Regions from separate parts of the Homo sapiens genome. Here region 2 is linked to region 1. Evidence: promoter capture Hi-C in human tissues and cell types (Jung and others, 2019). All regions are on one chromosome and are shown on one strand. Each heading gives the region's core, a stretch centred on a gene start or on the middle of the fragment in contact. The rest is flanking DNA. Distances are from core to core; before and after follow the strand shown. Region 1 holds the start of CCDC7 (coiled-coil domain containing 7). Region 2 holds the start of ITGB1 (integrin subunit beta 1).

Region 1 (2,700 bases), core at 163-2,662:
AAATGATGCAGAAACCAAGATTAAATTTACAAAATTGAAAAGCCTCAAAAGAATTCTGAATAAATTACATTGCCAAAGAAACTCCATCAAAACCTTCAGGTCCAAGCAAACATCAAAAATTCCATCAAAACCATCAGGACCAGGAAACAGGACGTAAGAAGAGTGGCCAATGAGCCAATAAGTAAAACCAAAAGGTTATATATACATAGAAAGCAAGGAAAAGAAAATATCACCAAGGACCGAGTGATGAACTACGTCAAATGCTGAGTCAAGTAAAATGAAGACTAAGCTGACACTGGATTTGGCAACATGGAGGTAGGTCATTTGTAACCTGAAGAACGGCAACAATTTCAGTAGAATGATCGAGGTAAATATCTGACTTACCGTTCAAAAGAGAGGAAGTAGGAACAATGAATTGAATATAAGCACTGTAGAGAAATTTTACTATAAAAGGGAGTAAAGAAATACAGTATTACTAGAAGAAAACATGGTCAAGAGGAAAGTTCGATGGAAAAAAGAACAAGTGTATATGCTGTTATGGATTGCATTGTGTCCTCTCTCCCCAAAAAAGTGTGAGGGAGGGAGGGAGGGAGGGAGGGAGGGAGGAAGGGAAGAGGGGAAGGAAGGAAGGGAGGGAGGGAGGGAGGCAGGCAGGCAGGCAGGCAGGCAACGCTCACTTGGTGCAAAAAAAAAGAACCTGACAAATGCTCCGATGAAGTTCACATAAATACAAAAATAGTCACACGCAATGAATACTCGTATTAGCAAGCAAATATTTAAGGACTTTACATATTTAATTCATTTATCCCTCCTAACAATGCTAGGAAGTGGATGTCAGCATTACTTCGCCCAAGTGCATCCGTCCCTTTCCGCCACCACGACAAATGTTTTCTGGTTTCATCCTTCAAGGATTAACTTACATTCATTTCAAATCCTTTAATGATAAAGTGTACAAAATAGAGGAGAGCGGCAGGGGTTGGCAGGGGACGTAGGGAAAGGATGATTTGCCTTCGATCCTACATCCTGCATAAAAAGCAGCACAACCGCCACGGAGGCAGCCAGGCAGCGGGAAAACTAAGTGCAAAGCCAGGACTCTCCCGAAACCCTCAGGTCCTGCTAAGGGAGCCGCTCCCGAGGCTCCCCGCCCTGTGTACCTGCTGAGACTGTGGGAAGTCGGGTGACTGGGCGGTTTGGCCTTGCTGGCTCTAAGGTGAAAAACTATTTGCCTGAGGAAGATGACAATTCCGAGCCTGCCAGACTTCCTTCGAGACGGAAGCCTGAAAACTCCTCAGACTCCAGCACCTCCCTTTTACAAACTGACGTTTGTGCTGAAAGAAAAGGCCCGGCCTCTGCGCCCCCGGGCGGCAGCAAAGACCGCCGGGCACCCGCCGCCGGCGCCGGATGGGGCCGTTGAAGCCACGTCCCAGGCGCCCGACGCCACGACGCCTTGGCGCCGCCGGCGTCGCTGACGCTGCGAGCGTGAGCTGCGCGCCGAGAGCGGAAGAGGAGACGCAGTTTGGCGGCTGTGGGGATTTGCCGGAAGGTTAATAATGTCCATGGGCACATCGGCCTCCTCCTTTCTTATTCTCTCCCAAGTGTAATTCCAGGACGCCCCCTGAGCGCAGATTCATCCAGGCATTTGGCCTAGAGGCCCGCGGAGGAGAAATAAAGTACAGGCCTGGTAGGACCTTTGAGAACCTGGGCTTCAGCTACAAAACCAGAGCCCCAGTCCTTCATCTGCTGTCTCCTCAAGCTCTTTTCAGTGTATTGTGGAGTTCATTACCACTCTAAGCTCGCACGGAAGTGTACACCAGCTTCGTGATCTTAAAAGCAAAACAAAATCAAATGGACTAGGAATTAACTTGAAGCAGAGTTGTGACACTTAAGTGGTTTCTTGCCATCAGTTTCCACGCACTGCTTTAAGATGCAATTTTACAAGGTAGAGTTTTTTAGATAATTTGACCTCAAGAAATATATTAATTTTGTCTTTAAGTTGAACGAAGTAAAATGTTTTTAATATTTTAAAATATTAATTGATACAATTTAACTGTTAATAATGCCTGTGTGTAAATGAAAGGAATAGGAAAGATGGAACTAAAACTAAAAACCAGGAGGTTTAAAGGAGACCTTAGATTTGACTTAGTAGATTTCAACTATTTTCTAAAACTCTGAAAATTCATTATATCTAATTATTTCTAATTTTCCAGTAAAATCTGAATGCCTCACAAGAGATTCCTGAAAATTTATCAGCTCCCAAGAGCTGGTGTAGGCTAGCTCCATCACACCACTAGGAGTTACCATTGGGGTTGCCTGGAAAGGGAAAACAACACATCTTCTGGTGTACCAGAAATGTTCTGTCTTCTGCTCTTTCTGGGTGTGTTCAAAAATTCATGAAGGCAGGCTGGGCGTGGTGGCTCGCACCTGTAATCCCAGCACTTTGGGAGCCTGAGGCAGTGCATCACTCGAGGTCAGGAGTTCGAGACTAGCCTGGCCAACATGGTGAAACCCCATCTCTACTAAAAATACAAAAATTAGCCGGGCGTGATGGCGGGTGCCTGTAATCCCAGCTACTTAGGAGGCTGAGGCAGGAGAATCACTTGAACCCAGGAGGTGGAGGTTGCAGTGAGCCGAGATTGTGCCATTGCGCTCCAGCCTGGGCAACAGAGCGAGACTCCATCTAAAAAAGAAAAAAAAAAAAAA
Region 2 (2,500 bases), core at 1-2,500, 510 kb before region 1:
AACACCGACTTTAATTATTTGACATAATAATGACTTAAGAGATGGCAGAAGACAATTGATAATAATTGGGAGACAGTGTAGGTAAGGTATGGATTTATCTTGAACTCAAGATACTTATGATGTTCTATTAGGTTGGTGCACACAGCCATCTGGTCGACCTTAGACACGGGAAGGCAAGCACCCCCTGGTTGACCTTAGACATGGAAAGGTGAGAGCTATCTGGTTGACCTTACACATGGGAAGGCAAGACACATCTGGTAGACCTTGCACCAACCTAATATGATAAAAGTTGCAGTGTGGCTTGCACTATTCCTACTTATCAGGATTTCCTGTTTAGCACGTATGCTGACCAACCTTTGCTTAGAGTATTCATAAATTTCATAGCTCACTGTCCACCCATTATTTGTATGAAATCACAAGTAGACTCGTATTCTTGACCAATGACTGCAGTTTTTAGAGAACATGTTTCTTTAATTTCTTTTTCCTCAAAACTCATGACTTCTGTACACAAATTGCTACCTCACACATCAGTTTAGTCAAGTGCTCTAGCCCAGTCCTGGGAGAGCAAAAGGACCCATTTATTCATTTATCAGATATTATCTGAGCCCCTATTATCTGTCCTTGCAACAGTGCTTGACGGTGGTGTTAAAAAGCTCAGTAAATTGTCCTGGAGGAACTAATTTAGTTTAGAGTTGTGCATATGTAAATCTCATAATGTTCTTGTAGCAAAGACTAGCTAGTGCCTCCACCAGTCACGTACAGGGAAAAAAATTCTGGAAATTGTAGTGCAAATCAGGCACGGACCAATTATGCTTTTGAACTATACAGTTTTCTGTGCTGAGACTGGGCCAATTCTGATGAATTCTGAACAATGGTAAAACCGATACCTTTAAAATTCAAGAATGTTGAGTTCTAATGGCAGTTTGACCATTGAGATATTAATATAGGAACATCATTTAGCCTCTTAAGCTTGAACATCCATTAAGTGGGAAAAATAGTGCTCATTTCCTAGAGGTCTTCAGATTGGCTAATCAAGTTTTGATTTTGCTGGTAAGTAATGAGCAAATTTTCTTAGATGTGATCGCTTCATTTTCTCTTATATTGATTGGCAGCAGCCAAATGGGCATTCCAGTCCCTAATCTCCTGCAAGAGAAACACTTCTATTTCATAAATCTGGTAATTTTTGAGCTCTTTTCCCAACAGGGTGCTGCAGCTCACCAAGCGGAACCCACAGCATTTTCTGCTACCAGGATAGCAGCTTGCCAGTAGCATATACTAAATTACTGGGTTTCAGTATGATTTTGGCTGGTACAGACTTCAATCATCGAATCGACATGCGTTCAGCCATTCTCATAATGAATGTTTCCTTCTCTTTCAAACGTTGTTTCCAGCCCCAATCTCCAAATTTTTTTTTTTTAAGAGGTGAAACAGAAACTGTACTCCTTAGGAAGAAACTTTTCCTTCTCATCCCTGTTCCCCATAAAGGTACCTCCAGATAAATCTATCAAAAGCAGGACGCAACTCACCAGGTTTTCTAAAACGTTCCCCAGTCTCACCACCCTTCGTGACACCCATGGGTTTCCCAATTCTTCACCTTTCTCTTAGACACAGGCAAGCACATTATCACTCCAGAAAAGCAGTCCTGGCTTAGCCAGTTCCCTTCCAGAAGGACCACGTGGTTTTTGGCCCCATGGAGCCCTGCAGGGTAGGGGGGCTCACGGTCCCGATTTGCCTCGGGACTCAGGGGGCTTCCGAGATGCAGGATCTCCCGGGCTCGAAACGGGACATCAGTGGACAAACGGGAGCGAGGGTCGAACGCGCGGCTCCGAGGAAGAGGAACTTAAAGAACACGGGCCCAGCAGGCTACACCAGGAACGCGCGGGGCTCTAGGGCGCGTCCGACTCCTCCCGCCCTTCGCAGAGGAGGAAACTGAGGCACGGCGACTGTCTCAACGCAGTCCCGGCCCTGCCCCCCGCGGCCTCCCTCAGGCGCGCTCCCGCGCAGCCGGTTCCTTTGTCCCGGTCGCACTTCCTGCCCCATCCTCCGCCTCCTCCTAGCCCCGGGCCGGGCTGACGCGGCGGGAGAGGAATGCGTTTCCGGAGGGAGAGGGCGGCGGCGGCCTCGGGAGCGGGATCAGACGCGCAGAGGAGGCGGGGCCGCGGCTGGTTTCCTGCCGGGGGGCGGCTCTGGGCCGCCGAGTCCCCTCCTCCCGCCCCTGAGGAGGAGGAGCCGCCGCCACCCGCCGCGCCCGACACCCGGGAGGCCCCGCCAGCCCGCGGGAGAGGCCCAGCGGGAGTCGCGGAACAGCAGGCCCGAGCCCACCGCGCCGGGCCCCGGACGCCGCGCGGAAAAGGTAGGGGCCGGCGGGCCTCGGGTGTGGGAGCGCGGGCCGCGGCCTCCGGTCTCCTGTGCGCGGCAGCACTTAAAGCCGCCGGCCGGGCCGCGCCGGGACCTTTGTGCCGGGCGTGGGGGTGGGGGCGGGGGCGGGGGCGGGGGCGGC

Evidence for each region. The method cuts DNA at HindIII sites, captures the fragments that hold promoters and counts their contacts. A contact is called where the count stands out against the background at its distance.
Region 2: a contact is called between a fragment that was not itself captured here and the fragment with the promoter of CCDC7 in region 1, in 1 of the 25 tissues and cell types used here (dorsolateral prefrontal cortex).

The regions. Positions count from the first base shown.
Region 1 is chr10:32,444,852-32,447,551 of GRCh38, reverse strand. It overlaps CCDC7 (coiled-coil domain containing 7), which reads right to left and starts at 1,412. Exons shown (of 44, transcript NM_001395015.1): 1 at 1,155-1,412. It overlaps LOC101929431 (a long non-coding RNA gene), which reads left to right and starts at 1,496. Exons shown (of 3, transcript NR_120660.1): 1 at 1,496-1,939. RefSeq lists a silencer at 1,242-1,471 and an enhancer at 1,542-1,861. The HindIII fragment of the contact is 7,178 bases long and covers 1-2,700 here.
Region 2 is chr10:32,957,998-32,960,497 of GRCh38, reverse strand. ITGB1 (integrin subunit beta 1) reads left to right here and starts at 2,268. Exons shown (of 16, transcript NM_002211.4): 1 at 2,268-2,353. RefSeq lists an enhancer at 1,696-1,745 and a silencer at 1,916-2,495. The HindIII fragment of the contact is 6,847 bases long and covers 1-2,500 here.